2 separate regions of the Homo sapiens genome follow, and region 1 is linked to region 2. The links are contacts of gene promoters, found by promoter capture Hi-C in human tissues and cell types (Jung and others, 2019). All regions are on one chromosome and are shown on one strand. Each heading gives the region's core, a stretch centred on a gene start or on the middle of the fragment in contact. The rest is flanking DNA. Distances are from core to core; before and after follow the strand shown.

Region 1 (3,648 bases), core at 129-2,628, 450 kb before region 2:
CCTTGGTCTATAGGATAAATCCAGTCCCCTTAGTTTTTCAATTTCCTACCTCTCAGCCTTTGTTTATAGCATTCTGTTATCCAACAATTAACTGGCTTCTTTCTTTCCTCTTATTCAAATCTCACTCTTACTTAAAAATTGGACTTCATTCCCTCCTGTTCATGAAGCCTCCTCTTCCACTCCTTCTCCAGTGATCCTTGTTTTGCCCCTGACTCTGTGACACTTGCTAAACTGTACCGGGGTTTTCAGTGTGGGTCTAAGGAAGCCTGGGGGTTTGAAGCTGTGCTTCAGCCGTACTAAGTGAGCGTAGGGAAGACCAAGAGCTCCACTCCCTCCCCATCCAACCTCCAGGCTGCTTTCTCTATTATATATGTTGAGATTTTGTTTAGTGTTTCCTTTGAAATTTTTCTTCTTTGGCCGTATCATTTATGGACTGTATTGTTACTTTTTTTTTTTTTTTTTTGTCAAATACATGTATCTCTTTTTCTTAATTAGGTTTTGTTACTTGAGGATCTTGAACTTTTTTGTCTCTCACTTGCTACCTTTCAGAATAAATATTTGTTGTTAACTTTACGGATTAATATTTGTTCTGCCTTGTTCACTGGATATTGTGAGACTGAAATGAGAAAAAGATGCTTTGAAAAGTAATGTCACAGCTGGGTGTTGTGGCACACGCCTGTAATCCCAGCAGTTTGGGAGGCCAAGGTAGGAAGATTGCCTGAGCCTAGGAGTTAGCGACCAGCCTGGACAACATGGGGAGATCCCATCTCTAAAAAAAAATAAAATAAAAAATAAAAAAAAAAGGCTGGGTATGGTGGCATGCACTTACTCAGGAGGCTGAGATTGCTTGGGCCCAGGAAGGGATTGCACCGCTTTACTCCAGCCTGGGCAACAGAGCAAGACCCTATCTCCAAAAATAAAAATAAAAAAAGAAATGTCAAATTAACTAAATGTTATTCCCTTTAGGGTATTATCTTGGAATGAGAATTTGTTGGAAGCTAAAACTTGACCACATTGTAATGTATTTTATTCAAATGGTTTAGAAACACCAAAAATTAATGTTATTGTCTGTTCACACAGACTAGCAGAAATGCAAACATGTAAAGACACAAATTTGTATTACATGAGAAGTACAGTTATAGAAGTTTGTTCAAGTATATCTGTGGAACAAAGAAGGCACATATAAGCTGTTTGCAGGTGAGCCAGAGAGTGTTTTCCTTTTAAAGGGTAGCTTGCCAGATCGAAGTTGCAAGATGAGCAAGGCAGAGAAGTAGGCAAACAGAGTAGAATATAAAAGGCTCCAAGACGTAGAACAAGATCTTGGGAACTATTATCCCATAGAGCTAGTGCATAACAATGCTGAAATTGGAGATAAGCTGGACCTGAATAGTCCAGTATGGCGGCCACAAGCCACATGTAATTACTTAAATTATGCAAAGTTTAAAATGCATTTATTTAGTCATACTAGCCACATATCAAGAGTATGTTAGGCATATGTGGCTAGTGTCCACTTTATCAAATGTAGAACATTTCCATTAGCATAGGAAGGGCTGTTTGGGCTGGGGCAGACCATAGAGGACTTTGTGAACTTAATTGAGGAGTTGGGCTTTTATCTTGTAGGCAGTTATGAGCCTTTGAAGAGTCTTAAGCAGGGGAGTAACATGACCAGACTTGCATTTTTAGAAGATTTCCAAACTTACAGGTATCAGTTCTCAAGTATATAGCAGTTTTAGAATCAGTCAAACATTTCTATCTAGCACATAGCTTTTGCTGAAAAAGTATAATTACAAGGGAATTAGGTAGCCTGATTAGAGTGGAGAATAAAATAGATATAGGATTTGAACATCTTTCAAGACTTCTAATTCCACTGCAGCATTCTCTTGGAAGCGGTTGTTATTCTTATGATAGTCTGGAAAAAAAATGTTTCTTTACTTTTTTAGGGAGATTACTGGGTGATAAATGTTAGTGATAATGTTATGTGATAAAAATTTTCACAAACTATTACTCAAGATATTTATATCCTTATTTTGTTATAGGATTTGCCATTATGTTTTGAAAGCTAAGACTAATAACTGCCATGACTTGATAATAAGTTGACTAAATCAAGATGTTAAATAGAATTGTCATACATTTATTAATCAAAGTAATTTAATTAGATTTACTAACAAAATAAAAATGTTGCTTTTAATAATTTGAATTAAACGTTCATGCACATTTACTAATTTGGGCCTTTTCTTACAGTTAACCCAGTATCCACTCCAGTTGCACTTCCCACACCAGCTCTTTCTCCAAGTTTGATGGCTGATCTTGAAGGTTTACACTTGTCAACTTCCTCTTCAGTCATCAGTGTAAGTTATTTTTAAAATCCACCAGCTCGGTTTTCTTATGTTGCCATTGTATCTTTTTTATTAAAATGTAAATACTTGAAGTGGATTCTTAGTTTTGAACAGATTCTTCTCTAAGAACAAGCCCAATTTAGCTAAGACCTTTTAATTTTTTAAATAATTTACTCAAACCATTATCTTCTCAATTTTTTTCCCTTGTTGTCCACACTTAATTATCATCTGTATGTTTTTCTCTGGTATTGTTATATATCTGTAACATACAAAGGTTCTTCACCACATTGACGCAGTACATATACCTGAACTGTGCCACAAAAAGTTGTCTACATTAACAGACTTTCATTTCCGTAATCGTTTTATTCCTACCACACTATTTTTTCATAGACTATTAAAAATTCATGACTGTTTTTATTTAAAAGTTCAAGATTTTTTTTTCTGTCTTATTTTTGTACATTTATTTACATGTGTTGGTGTCTTTAAAATTATTCTTTAATGTTATTTATAGAATGTGATGTGAAGTGAGGCTAGAACCTACCTGTCACAAAATAATGCAAAAACCGTCAACATATCATGGTATTTGAAGCTGCAACAACTGTTTATTGTGTTAGCATATTATATCCACTAACTTTTCACTGTAAATCAAGCACGCTGCGCCTAAGATGTATAATCTGTTGATATGCTTGACCTCCTGTTAATTTGTTGTCAGAAATCTGACAGACTAAGAGACAGAATAGTAAGCTTTGATGGGCATAGGTAGCTTCAATAGATCTGGTTCTCAGGGCTGGCAGGGTACTACATGGCATATAACTGATCATCTGAGCTGCCTGGGAGCATAGAGCTGCTTCTGCCAAAAGTGGGAGAAAAGAAGTGTTTAATTCTTGTGTGTTATTATGGAAAAAATTCCTCCTTTAAAGCAAATATGCTATCAGGGCTATGCAATGAAATACTAAAAAAAGCTATCTGCATTTCTGTTCAACATTGGTCACCTCGCTCAGAAAGTACAGGTGAAAAGTTTTAAGCTACAATGTTCTCCTTAAGCATAGAATGAGATTATCTCTTAACCACCCAGAAATGAGTAAGAATGGTATTTGTGATTTTAATTTGCCCTTGTTTCTAAAAGGAAAAGACACATTAAAAGATATGAGGGAGAAGCATTGAAAATAAGCAGTTAAGTCTTTTATTTATTCAGGTAATAAATATTTATTGAGCATTTGTGGTAGTCTCTAAAGAAAAAGTGTTAATCAAAAAATCAATAGTGAAGCAGTTAGTTCCTTGAATGGAACAGGAGGTCCCTAAAACCTTGGTT
Region 2 (3,764 bases), core at 871-3,370:
TGCGAGTCCCTGGACGTGCGCGGGCCGGTGCGTACTCCCGAGTCACCGTCCTGAGCTCACGCCGCCCCTCCCTGGGCTGCTGTCTGGCCTCCTTTTGCTGTGCGCTCCCAGCGCTCTAGCTTCTAGATTTGAGGTTTTGTTTGGGGGCAAAGAAAGCTTTTATTGGGGAGACTTTGTTTGCTTTAGGTCTCGGAATTCTCCTCCCAGGCAAAGCGTTTCTCAGAAGGGCTGCGGCCGCTTGCCAAAAACCCTAGCGGCTCCCAGACACGCCGCGAGCCTGAGTCCACGACCCCGGCGCCCAGTCCCACATAGGCCGCGTTGGTAGCAGCTGCAGCAGCCGCTGAAACCCAGTCCGGCCCGGAGCTTCCCGGGAAGCGGTCTCCGCAGCTCAGAAGAAACTGGTGTGGCCAATACCCTGCATTCACACGTGTGTGCATATGTGTGCGCGCGCACGTGTGTGTGCAGGAGAGGAGGCGAACGGGCTGCAGGAGGGAAGGAGGAAACAAAACTGCCCGAGAGTTCGCTTTGCCGCCTCCTTTGTCTCCTTGCTCGGTCCCTGTCACACATACAGCTGAGGACACACACACACACACACACACACACACACACACACACAATTCCTCTCGCATCTGCTCTCAGCCAGCATTTTCAATGTTTTGTCTAAGTCAATTGGACGGCGAACAAAAAAAGCCATTTGCTCAGTATTATTTAAAACAGACTTCATTGGGCCACCCTTTTGTGGAAGGTTTATTTGCACTAAATGAATAATCTTAATTGCATCACTCTCGAATTAAAAATCAATGTTAATCAAGTTGGGAGTAGTAAATATCAGTTTTCATTGTGACTGGGTAGAGGGCATTTTTCTTGTGTTGCAAATAAAAATACAAGTCAAATAACTTTAAAAGGGCATTATGTTCTGCTACAAATACAATTGAAACGGATTGTTTAGGAGCAGATCAGAAATGGTACAGAATTTTGCACTTAATTTCCTCAGTTATCATTTACAATAAGAACCTCTAGGCTTGACAGCCAAGTCTAAACAGTAGTAAATTAGTACAAATTTATACTGATTTTACTCTAATAATCGTAATAAAAGCTTATAGATTTGGCACTAATTACATAAATGCCTAATGATCTTGAAAATTACTCTGGTTAGAAATATATTACTAATCTAAACTTTGTTGTTGGCTGGCTCTGAAAAATCAGAACATTAGAAATGGTTCGCTTCACTTGTGCAAAGCACTTTAAATTGTTCAAGTAGTTTAACATATTCAAGAGGAAAATAAAGAGCATTTAACTTTATTTACAGCCTTAAGTGGAGTTGGGAGCCGAGCTGAACTTAGAAACTTTGACCAAAAGAGCGAGTTAGGGGCGAGGATGCGGGCGTGGGCCAAGCGGAAGAGCAGGAGCCGGGAAGAAGCCCGGTGAGAAGAGTGCAGAGCGCTCGAACCCACACTCCGCGAGGGTCCCCAAAGCAGACAGCGGGCGCTGGCGGTGCCAGGGAAGCCGACTCCTCTTTGCGCTCTAGGCCCACTGTGGGGTTGGGGCTCGTATAGACCCCAGGGCACAGCCAGGGCGCCTGGACCCTAGGCGCAGGCCTACTGAGCCGCGGCGAAGTCCAGGCGTTGTCTGAAGGCCGCGGTGTGCCCTCGTCGCGCCCTGGGCTGGCGGGCCAATATGAGCGGCAGGCCCAGAGAGCGCAGGTGGGGGCGACCCTCAGGTCACGCCAGGGTCATGGCCCGCTCTGACCCCTGCTCTGCCCCTGCCCTAGGAAGATGTTAGCTCAGAGGCACAGAGCTACGCCTTCGAAGCGCGCAGCGCCGGCCAAGGGGAAGGAAAGGGGAGCCTGGAGAAAATCGCAGGGAAGAACTAGAGGGAGCCGGGCCCAGAAGCTCAGGGCGAGGCCGAGGCGGCTGAGGCTGCTTTAGCTCCTGCTCCGGGCTGGAGCTGCCAGGGCTGCCGCCGCCGCCTCCTTCAGGCGGGCGCAGGCGAGCGGGCGGGCGGAGTGGGGGACTCTCCGGGCGCTGACATTTGCAGGCTGCCCTCCTGATTGGTCCCCTCGCCGAGCTGCTCACGGGTTCATTCAACTGTTAAGCACCTCCCCGTCTCTCTAAAGGACATTATAATGCAAGAAGCCCCCTTTTTAACCACAAACCGAATTTTCTTTCATTTAGGTGATCTATATATATCTATATCGTATAGCTTATAGCTTATATCTATTTTAAATAACTTAAAGCCGCTAAAATTTGGGGGGGAACAGCTTTCGCCCTGGAGCGGTGCGCGATGCTGTCTCATGCCGACCTCCTGGACGCCAGGCTAGGTGAGTGCGCGCCTCTCGCCCGGGCAGCCAGGAGAAGCCGGGGCAGGAAATTGTCAATTTGTTCCTTATTTTACCTTAATGCGACCTAAATGGACTAATTTCTTTAAAAGTAATTGTGCTGCATTAAAGTTTAATTTGATTTAACATCGCCTTTAAAAAAAAATCTATGGAATATGTAGATCCAAGAAAGGAGTTGGGGAATGTTGTTACTTTTTGTTTTTCTTATTTTTCTCTTCCCCCCTCCCCCGCCTTTTTTTTTTTTTCGAAAGGCGATATACCCCGTGATAATTTGTTAGGAGGTGTTTCTCTCTCTTTTTTCCCTCTCCTGTTTGTTTTGATTTGGGATTTCTTTCTCCTTCCCTCCCCCCGTTTCTCTCTCCCCACCATCTTCTTCTCTCCTCCTTTTCTAAGTGTGGTGTAATTTGTAAAAAATCTGGCATAAAGGAGAAGCTGCTGCCATCAAGGCGGATTTGCTAAGTGTGCTGGTTGAGAAGGAGAGAAGCCAAATTCAACCTCACAGTCATCCCCCCCTCTTCTGCAAGGGACTCAGCGTTGCCAATGGCTGTGAGGAATGCGCCTTTTATTTCTCTGGAAAGAAAAGTTGAAATCTCTAAAGTTTGATTCACGGTTGTCCATAGAGTTCACTCGAGTTTCCTTAATGCTATCTGGGTTGCTGAGCTCTGGGTTTCCGGATTGGGAATCTTCGGTGATGGATGTGACTCCATTTTCCAAACACTTTCTCTGATTTGAGGGGGAGGCGGAGCTGATTTGGGTTGATTTCGGGGGGTGAAAGCTTGGAGGCTTATTCATCTTCCGAAAGTAAGAGGGAATCGGCTGAGGGCCGGAGGTACAGTTCGTCAGGCTGCCGAAGCGCAGGTGCCGCAGCAACCGAGGAATTGTTTAATTTTCTTTCTGCCCCCCGCACCCCTGTGTCCAAAGATTTGCTCTCGATTTCCTGGGGCGCCTGGGGTACGGTTTATGGAAGGGATTCAGAGGCATGTTTTATTGCCGGGACTGGGAGTGTTTTATTGTGGGAGAGACGAAAGCTTGTGCTGTTTACTACGGGAGCCGGCTGCGGCGAGGGCAAGGGGCCGGGAGATATTATTCCAACCCGGCTGTCCAAATTCTGGGGAACCCAGCTGAATACCCTGGGAGTTTCTTCCTTAGGACAAGCGCGGGTGCGGAGGGGGCCGAGGACGGGTTGAAGGAAGGCTGCGCGGGGAAGACAGCCCCTCCTGGCATCGCCAAGAAAGTAGTGACCGCGATCCCCTTGCCTCCTCAGGTATGAAAGATGCCGCCGAGCTTCTGGGCCACCGGGAGGCGGTGAAGTGTAGGCTGGGCGTGGGGGGCTCCGACCCCGGGGGCCATCCGGGGGACCTGGCGCCCAACTCTGACCCAGTGGAGGGAGCCACTCTGCTGCCCGGGGAGGACATCACCACAGTGG

What was found. Contacts are between HindIII fragments. The study calls those that stand out against the background at their distance.
Region 1: a fragment that was not itself captured here is called in contact with the fragment with the promoter of OTP in region 2 in 1 of the 25 tissues and cell types used here (lymphoblastoid cells).

The regions. Positions count from the first base shown.
Region 1 is chr5:78,088,093-78,091,740 of GRCh38, reverse strand. It overlaps AP3B1 (adaptor related protein complex 3 subunit beta 1), which reads left to right. Exons shown (of 27, transcript NM_003664.5): 22 at 2,242-2,348. Among named protein-coding and RNA genes, the nearest start is that of AP3B1, 200 kb to the left of the region's middle. The HindIII fragment of the contact is 4,309 bases long and covers 1-3,532 here.
Region 2 is chr5:77,637,069-77,640,832 of GRCh38, reverse strand. It overlaps OTP (orthopedia homeobox), which reads left to right and starts at 2,120. Exons shown (of 3, transcript NM_032109.3): 1 at 2,120-2,320; 2 at 3,603-3,764. The coding sequence starts at 2,284. RefSeq lists enhancers at 1,023-1,577, 1,578-2,134. The HindIII fragment of the contact is 12,469 bases long and covers 627-3,764 here.